Regions from separate parts of the Homo sapiens genome. Here region 1 is linked to region 2. Evidence: promoter capture Hi-C in human tissues and cell types (Jung and others, 2019). All regions are on one chromosome and are shown on one strand. The core of a region is centred on a gene start or on the middle of the fragment in contact, and the rest is flanking DNA. Distances in the headings are between cores, read along the strand shown. Region 1 has its middle 71 kb from the start of EYS. Region 2 holds the start of EYS (eyes shut homolog).

The links. The method cuts DNA at HindIII sites, captures the fragments that hold promoters and counts their contacts. A contact is called where the count stands out against the background at its distance.
Region 1: a contact is called between a fragment that was not itself captured here and the fragment with the promoter of EYS in region 2, in 2 of the 25 tissues and cell types used here (hippocampus and mesenchymal stem cells).

Annotation. Positions count from the first base shown.
Region 1 is chr6:65,775,974-65,780,093 of GRCh38, reverse strand. No RefSeq gene overlaps it. Among named protein-coding and RNA genes, the nearest start is that of EYS, 71 kb to the right of the region's middle. The HindIII fragment of the contact is 5,057 bases long and covers 302-4,120 here.
Region 2 is chr6:65,704,642-65,708,957 of GRCh38, reverse strand. It overlaps EYS (eyes shut homolog), which reads left to right and starts at 1,732. Exons shown (of 43, transcript NM_001142800.2): 1 at 1,732-1,823. The HindIII fragment of the contact is 4,031 bases long and covers 1,540-4,316 here.

The DNA of each region.
Region 1 (4,120 bases), core at 1,581-4,080, 70 kb before region 2:
AGTTTACTGAGAATGATGATTTCCAATTTAATCCATGTCCCTACAAAGGACATGAACTCATCATTTTTTATGGCTGCATAGTATTCCATGGTGTATATGTGCCACATTTTCTTAATCCAGTCTATCATTTTTGGACATTTGGGTTGGTTCCAAGTCTTTGCTATTGTGAATAATGCTGCAATAAACATACGTGTGCATGTGTCTTTATAGCAGAATGATTTATAGTCCTTTGGGTATATACCCAGTAATGGGATGGCTGGGTCAAATGGTATTTCCAGTTCTAGATCCCTGAGGAATCGCCACACTGACTTCCACAATGGTTGAACTAGTTTACAGTCCCACCAACAGTGTAAAAGTGTTCCTATTTCTCCACATCCTCTCCAGCACCTGTTGTTTCCTGACTTTTTAGTGATTGCCATTCTAACTGGTGTGAGATGGTATCTCATTGTGGTTTTGATTTGCATTTCTTTGATAGCCAGTGATGGTGAGCATGTTTTCATGTGTTTTTTGGCTGCATAAATGTCTTCTTTTGAGAAGTGTCTGTTCATGTCCTTCGCCCACTTTTTGATGGGGTTGTTTGTTTTTTTCTTGTAAATTTGTTTGAGTTCATTGTAGATTCTGGATATTAGCCCTTTGTCAGATGAGTAGGTTGCGAAAATTTTCTCCCATTTTGTAGGTTGCCTGTTCACTCTGATGGTAGTTTCTTTTGCTGTGCAGAAGTCTTTTAAAAACATAACTAGTGAAGAGAGCAAATATATGGAAAATGTGATAAACATTTTGTTTAGTTTTCCATTTATCCATTCCTTTTTTTACCAATATTTATTAAGTGCCTACTATGTGTCAAGTGCTGTTAATAGGTAATTGGGATAGAAAAGTGATGCAAAGAACAAAAAAGAGAAAACTTCTGTTTCCATGGAATTTATAATCTGCTGAGGTGAGACAGACAATGAACATAATAAATAAGTGAATTATGCAGGGTGTGGATTGGCAAACCTTTCTGCAAAGACCAGATATTATATACTTCTTTAGGCTTTGCCAGCCACGGGATCTCTCATACTTTTACAAACTGGCACTGTGGTGACAAAGCAACCCCAGACAATAGCTAAATATATGGGTATGGCTATGTGTCAATAAAATTTTATTCGCAATAAGTGCTATAGAGAAATATTAAGCAGAATGAGGAAGATGGAAAGTACATGTGCCATTTTAAATAGGATGGTCAAGGAGTAGTCACTGTAAAGGTGATAGTTGTGCAAAGACAAAGAAGATAAGGGAGGAAAGTCACTTGGATATGAAAGGAAGAATGGTCCCAAGAGTAAGAATTAGGTCAAAGATTTCTATTAATTACTAAATTGTAATGTGACCTACAAGGGGTGATATTTTCTAAATTTGCACACTAATGATTGTCCTTTTCTTTTTGTCAAAGCTAGTGTCTGTTCTGTGTCTGTGCCATGCAAGTTATTAAATATTCAGACATCACCAAAGCTTACCACATAAAAAGCATATACCTCTATTTGGGAGGCTGAGGCAGGAGAATCACTTGAACTTGAGATGTGGAAGTTGCAGTGAGCCGAGAGTCTACCACTGCACTCCAGCCTGGGCAAAAGAGTGAGACTCTGTATCCAAAAAAAAATGTGTATAAATATAAAACATGAGTTTGGAAATTTGGGAATTATAAGTTTAGTAAATAATTCATTATTGTATAATTATGTCCCATTTACATATGGACTAATTCACATATATAAAATTGGCATGCTATTTACATGCTTCTAAATATTAAAAATATGAAATATTACATCATGAATAAATTATATTCCTATTGATAACAGAATTTTCTAAGAAAGTAAGCTAAGGTGATTACAAAAACTGTTTCATTCTATTTATATATTTATTTTATTTTCAACTTTTATTTTAGGTTCGGGGGTACACATGCAGGTTTCTTACATGCATAAATTGTGTGTCATGGGGGTTTGGTGCACAGAGTATTTCATCACTAACGTAATAAGCATAGTACTTGATGGGTAGATTTTTTATTTTTATCTTCCTCCCACCCTCAGCTCTCAAGTAGACCTTGGTGTCTGTTGTTCATTTCTTTGTGTCCGTGTGTACTTGATGTTCATCTCTCAAACACAAGTGAGAACATGCGGTATTTTCTTTTCTGCTCCTAAATTAATTCACTTAGCATAATGGCCTACAGCACTATCCATGTTGCTGCATGATTTCATTCTCTTTTATGGCTGTATAGAATTCCATGGTGTATATGTATCACATTTTCTTTATTCAGTTTACCTTTGATGGGCATTTAGGTATATTCCACATCTTTGATTGTGAGTAGTGCTGCAGTGAACACATGTGTGCATGTGTCTCTAAAGTAGGATGATTTGTGTTCCTTTAGGTATATACCCAATAATGGGATTGGTAGGTTGGAATGGTAGTTCTGTTTTAAGTTCTTTGAGAAATCTCCAAACTGCTTTCCACAGTGACTGAACTAATTTCTCTTCCCACTAGCAGTGTATAAATGTTTTCTTTTATCCATGACCTCACCAGAATCTCTTATTTTTTGACTTCTTAATGTTGGCTATTCTGATTGATTGGTGTGAGATAGTATCTCACAGTGGTTTTGATTTACATTTCTCTAATGATTAGAGATGTTGAGCATTTTTTCATATGCTTGTTGGTCATGTGTGTAACTTCTTTTGAAAAATGTCTGTTTATATCTTTTGCTCAATTTATAATGGGGTTGTTTGTTTTTTACTTGTTCATTTGTTAAAATCCTTATAAATTCTGGATATTAAGCCTTCGTTGGTTGCGTAGTTTGCAAATATTTTCTCCCATTCTGTAGGTTGTCTGTTTACTCTGTTGATAGTTTATTTTGCTGTGCAGAAACTTTAGTTTAATTAGGTCCCTTCTGCCAATTTTATTTTTGGTGTAATTGCATTTGACATCTTCGACATGAAGTCTTTGCCAGGGCTTATGTCTAGAATGGTGTTTTCTAGGTTTTCTTCAAGGTTTTCTATTGTTTTTGGTTTTACATTTAAGTCTTTAGTCTATCTTGAGTTGATTTTTGTATATGGTGAAAGGAAAGGGTCCGTTTTTAATCTTCTGCATATGACTAGTCATTTATTTTGCCATTAATTGAGTAGGGTTCCCTTTCTTCATGGCTTGTTTTTGTTGGCTTTGTCGAAGATCAGGTGATTGTAGGTGTGAGGCTTTATTTCTGGGTTCTGTAACCTGTTTCATTGGTTTGTGTGTCTACTTTTTAAGCAGTACTGTGGTGTTTTGTTTACTGTATCCTTGTAGTGTAGTTTGAAGTCAGATAGTATGATGCCTTCATCTTTGTAATTTTGCTTTGGATTATCATGGCTATTTGGGTTCTCTTTTGGTTCCATTGCAGCTTATAGCTTTCAGTGAATGCTAAGAATGAGTACTCAGACAATTCCAGCTGAGCGGGGTGAGGGGCAGCTCTTCTGAGAGAGTGCCCCCCAGAATCCATCCACCAAGTATTTATTGAAAGGGCTTGCTACTACAGACATCCACCAGATGGCATTTTGCCGTCGGGTCATGAGATACATATGGCCTTGTAAAAGCAGTTAAACTACATTCTTAGGAGACTGTTTTCAGCATTCCGTATCACACACTCAATTGCTTGTCCTGTTTTCAGGGTCAAGGAGTTACAGTCTCATGCACAAACAACATACACACAGTACCTCAGTGTTTTTCTATGCCCTGACCTCAAATGCCTTGTACAGAAGCTTGAATATATTGCTATGCAACCCCTTATATCCATATAAATTTTAGAATATATTTTCCTAATTCTGTGAAAAATGCCATTGGTAGTTTGATAAGAAGAGTGTTAAATCTGTACATTGGTTTGGACCATATAGCCATTTTAACAATATTGACTCTTCCTATCCATGAGTATGGAATATTTTTCCATTTGTTTGTGTTGTTTCTGATTTCTTAATTCAGGGTTTTTAAATTCTCATTCTAGAGGTTTTTCACCTCCCTTGTTAGCTGTATTCCTCGGTATTTTAATATTGTTGTGGCTATTGTGAACGGTATTTTGTTCTTGACTTGGCTTCCAGCTTGGATGTTTTTGGTGAATAGATATGCTAGTAAA
Region 2 (4,316 bases), core at 483-2,982:
AGGGAGAGGGAGGGGAGGGGGAGGGGAATGGGAGAGGGGACGGGAGGGTGATGGAAGGGAGGAGGAGAGATGTAAGGGAAGGGGGATGGAAGGGAGAGGGGAGTGGAGAGGAGTGGAGGGGAGGGAGGAGGGAAGGGGAGGGGAGCAGAGAGGGAAGGGAAGGGAATGGGGAAAAGGAGGAGGAAGGGAAGGGGGAGAGGGAGCAAAGAGGGAAGGGAAGGGAATGGGGGGAGTGGAGAAGGGGGAGCAGAGGGCAAGGAGAGGAGGGGGGAGGGGAGAGGAGGAGGAGGGGAAAAGGGAGGGAGGGGAAGGGAAGAGGAGGGGAAGAGGAGGGACACAGGGAGGGGGAAGGGAAGGGAAGGAGGAGGAGGAAGGGAGGGGGAAGGTAGGGGAAAGATATAAGAAAGGATGAAAGAAATAATAGGGGGAGATGCAAGAGAAAGAAAAGTGAAGAAAGGAAGGAAGAAGGAAGAGAAAGTAACAGAGGGAGAAAGATAAAGAAGGGAGAGAAAGGAAGAGAGGGAGAAAGGGAGGAAACTTCTAAGTCTTACAAGAAGCAAGATATAGTAGATGAACTGTTTTCCAGATATAAATGGATATGTGCATCATGATACTATGTTATGTTCAGCGTAAATTGTCTTGGGAGGCCACAGTGTATAATTATGAATAACTCATTTCCATGAGTCAACATATAAAAGTTCTTCCCTTTAGATAACAAAATGTTAGTAGCACATTGATTCATGAAAAATGTGTAAATATTATATAAATTATATAAAGAATAAATCATAAAACATATACACATGTATAATTTTATTTATTGCTACAAATAGAAATTTTTTTCTACAGTGTGATTTTAATATTTTAAAATATTACTTTTCTTTCATTAGGAGAGTGATTAAATATATGTTTCACACACTTACTGCAGGATCAAGTGTAATACAAATGATTTATGTTTAATTTAGTAATTTGAAAATATAAGGATAGTATTAAAGCCAGTGTCCAACTGGGACTGTGGGTTCAGGATATACTAATAGAATCTTAATTTGACAAAATTCTAATGCACTCAGTAACTGTTCTTTCTATAATCTCACAGATAGAGGTGAGATTTCATTTATTCTACCTTTCAGTGGTATAAATTTCTTGAGGCTTTCTTTATTATAGTCCCATAATTCTTCTTTAGGAAAAGGTAGATTCTGTATTACTTCTTTTATAAAGATCATCATAGAATCAATAAGTAACATACTAAAATCGTTCTTCGCATCAGCAGGCCCTCTTTCTGTTCTCTTATGCTGACAGCCTTTGCTATACAACACCATCTGAGGTTGTTACTAAACCTTCAGCATCAGGTTTCCCTAGCAACAGAAAGCTTTTTTCTTTCTCCCACTGTCTGTATATGAGTTTTTTACAAAAACAAAAAAAAAATTGTAATAATCTCTAAAAACACAAGAAAGCATTCAGACTGAGACCTATGAAGTTAGCAATGAAAATGGTGAGTTACAAATAAAATAAGGAATAATTAAATTGTAGAGAAGTATTTTGCTTATGGATTTACACAAAGCTCCAGATGGTGATTTGCTATATTCATCTCCAGATTAGCTAAATAAAGGCCAGGCCTTATGTCAGCCTGCACATGGCTTTAATGACTTTACCTTTGTACTGCAAAAGGTTAAGGCTTTTAGTGCTATGTTTCAGAAGACACATATAAAAGAAGCTTTATTGGATTAGGCTTCTGAGAAACAAAGTGATACACGCTAGGCATGTCCAGACATTAACCGTAATCAGAAGCCTCCTAGGGTTGCAAGCCTCCTTGGCTAATGGTTGGGGTAAGTTATACTTGATTCCACCTAGAAATTATTTTTCTATTACTAGATAAAAACACTGCCTAGCTGAACACAACTACAAAGATCTCTAATTATAATCATAAGCATTTCTTTAACCAGTTATTTTTACTTATTATATATAAAACATTTTCACTAAATTTTCTCTGTCATTTGCTTAAGGATATTCATTCTGTTTGAATCAAAAACAACATGTGCTTTATATTCCTTGGATATACAAATAATATAATTTTCACCTCCTTTGAGATACAGGATTTGGGGGATTGCTAGAGAATCTTTATTTAGTCATGAAGTACTTATGATTGCTTTCGATTTTTGAGGTTTTCCCCCATTGTCTGCTAGCATATACATAGGGCCATGAAATGTCAATTGCAAATGAAATTGTATGATTTTTCAGTTTGTTTAGAAAAGATTTTGGCCATAAATCTAGAGATACTCATACTAGTTTTGTTGGAGGTGATGTTTATTCTCATGTTAATGATCAACATTTTTTTCCTCTTCAATGGCACTGTGAGGATAGTGTTTCCTTTGTACGTGGTTGTTTAAGTTTTCTTACAACTGATCAGATATGATGATTTTTTAACAGCTGTAGTGTGATTATTTATTTTTAAAAAGAAAACGTAAAGGTGTTTCACAGGTCCAACACTCTTACCTTATTAATACACTACCAGTCTTATTATTTAGGAGATTTATGGTTCAATAAGATTTATTAGTTCTGTTTAATTCTTATGACTTTAATGAGCTTAAAAATCTTTATTATTTAAATATTTCAGAAATCAGGTATGTTGAACTATTTGTAATTACTTAGTATACAATATTAAAATAAGGGACCATTGCTTACCTTAAAGGTTAATGTTATTTTCAAAGTTAATTGCATAATATTAGAAACTATTGATATATATACTCATGTGTATATATGCTCATATATATACTCATATCATCTATATCATATGAGTATATGTCTATCAATCATTCTGCCTAAAATTATTAAATGTGATTTCTAAAATACATATGAAATGAATATTGAAGCATGCAACATATTGATATATATTATTTTGCCATTAATTTTGATATATATTACTTTGCAGTTAATTTTCATACTATATTTATATTATCAATTCTAACAAGTTTTTATTTAAAACTTAATATTTAGGTAATAATGATTCAGTTTATATTATTAGCAGGATTAAGGAAATACAATATTACTAGTGGATAAAGTGTGTTTTTATTATCAACAAAAATTGCAATTGTTAATAATTCAGATTTTTTAAAAATAATTCTCAGTTTTTAACTTAATAGTTTTAATTGGCCTAAAAATGGCCCTTTTAAACAAAAATGTTTGCAACATTTTACTATTTAGAAAGGAAAAGGGCATTGATATTGATTTAATCCTGACTATACTCAATATTCAAGAACTCAAATGCCAAACCATGAAGAAACTTCCATGTTTGCAGTTGCCATAAATAAATGACAGACAAAATTTGTATAATTTTCTGCATTTTAACCAACTAGAGAATAACTTGTGAGCATAGGGAATAAGCACAATGCCCCTTTTTCCATGGAATTACTAAAACCTAATACCAAGCCTTGATTTGGAGGCATTCAACAAATATTGAGTTAATGCGTTAAAAAACAAAACAAAACTGTATTGACTTACTTGGTTCCACTTTCCCCTTCTGTAGCATCTTTAAAACAATAACAAAAAACTTAGGGAAAACAAAAAAGAGGAAAGGACCAAAAGAAATAAAACATTTCTGGGGAAGGGTGGCCAACAAGCCCTGAGTACGTTAAGCTATGCTTAGCTGCTCCATGAATAAATTTTCCTCTATGCAGCCCAGATTCTTTGACTCTGGCCAAGCTCCTGCCCTAAATGGCAGTAGCCAAAGAGTTAATTGCTCCCTGTGAGTGCCCTAAGTTGTCAGGAGCTAACCACTTAATAATCTTAATGAAAATCATGTATGCTTGCAGAGGCTCATAGTAACTTTTATGGTGCCCATATAACACTGGAGAAGGTGGTCTAATCATACAAGTTTTTGCTAGCCCAACTGATATAAATAAATGCCTATTACACTTCTCTATCATTGAAATAAAAAAGTGAAAAAAATACCATTTTAAGAAAACCATGTGTTCCCAGAGGAAATTCTATTTTTAAATATAATAAAACTAACACTTCAGAAGATAACCCTGGAAAATAATGCTGAATAAAGATGAAAACAATTTTCAACTTTGAATGAACTGGAAGAAACAAAGATTAGAAAATGTGCCTCAGGTCATATTCTGGGTTTTGCCCCAAGAGAACTCAGAGAGTGAGTGCATCACTGCTGTGTAAGGTTTGGTGCATTTTACTTTCAGTGTTATGCTTATTTTCACCAAGTGCATTTTCTAATGATCAAAATAGTATTTACTAAATTCATGGTGCTAACTAAAATTTCTGATGAATAGAAGGTGTCTATTCTTGAGTTATTATATTTTATCTAT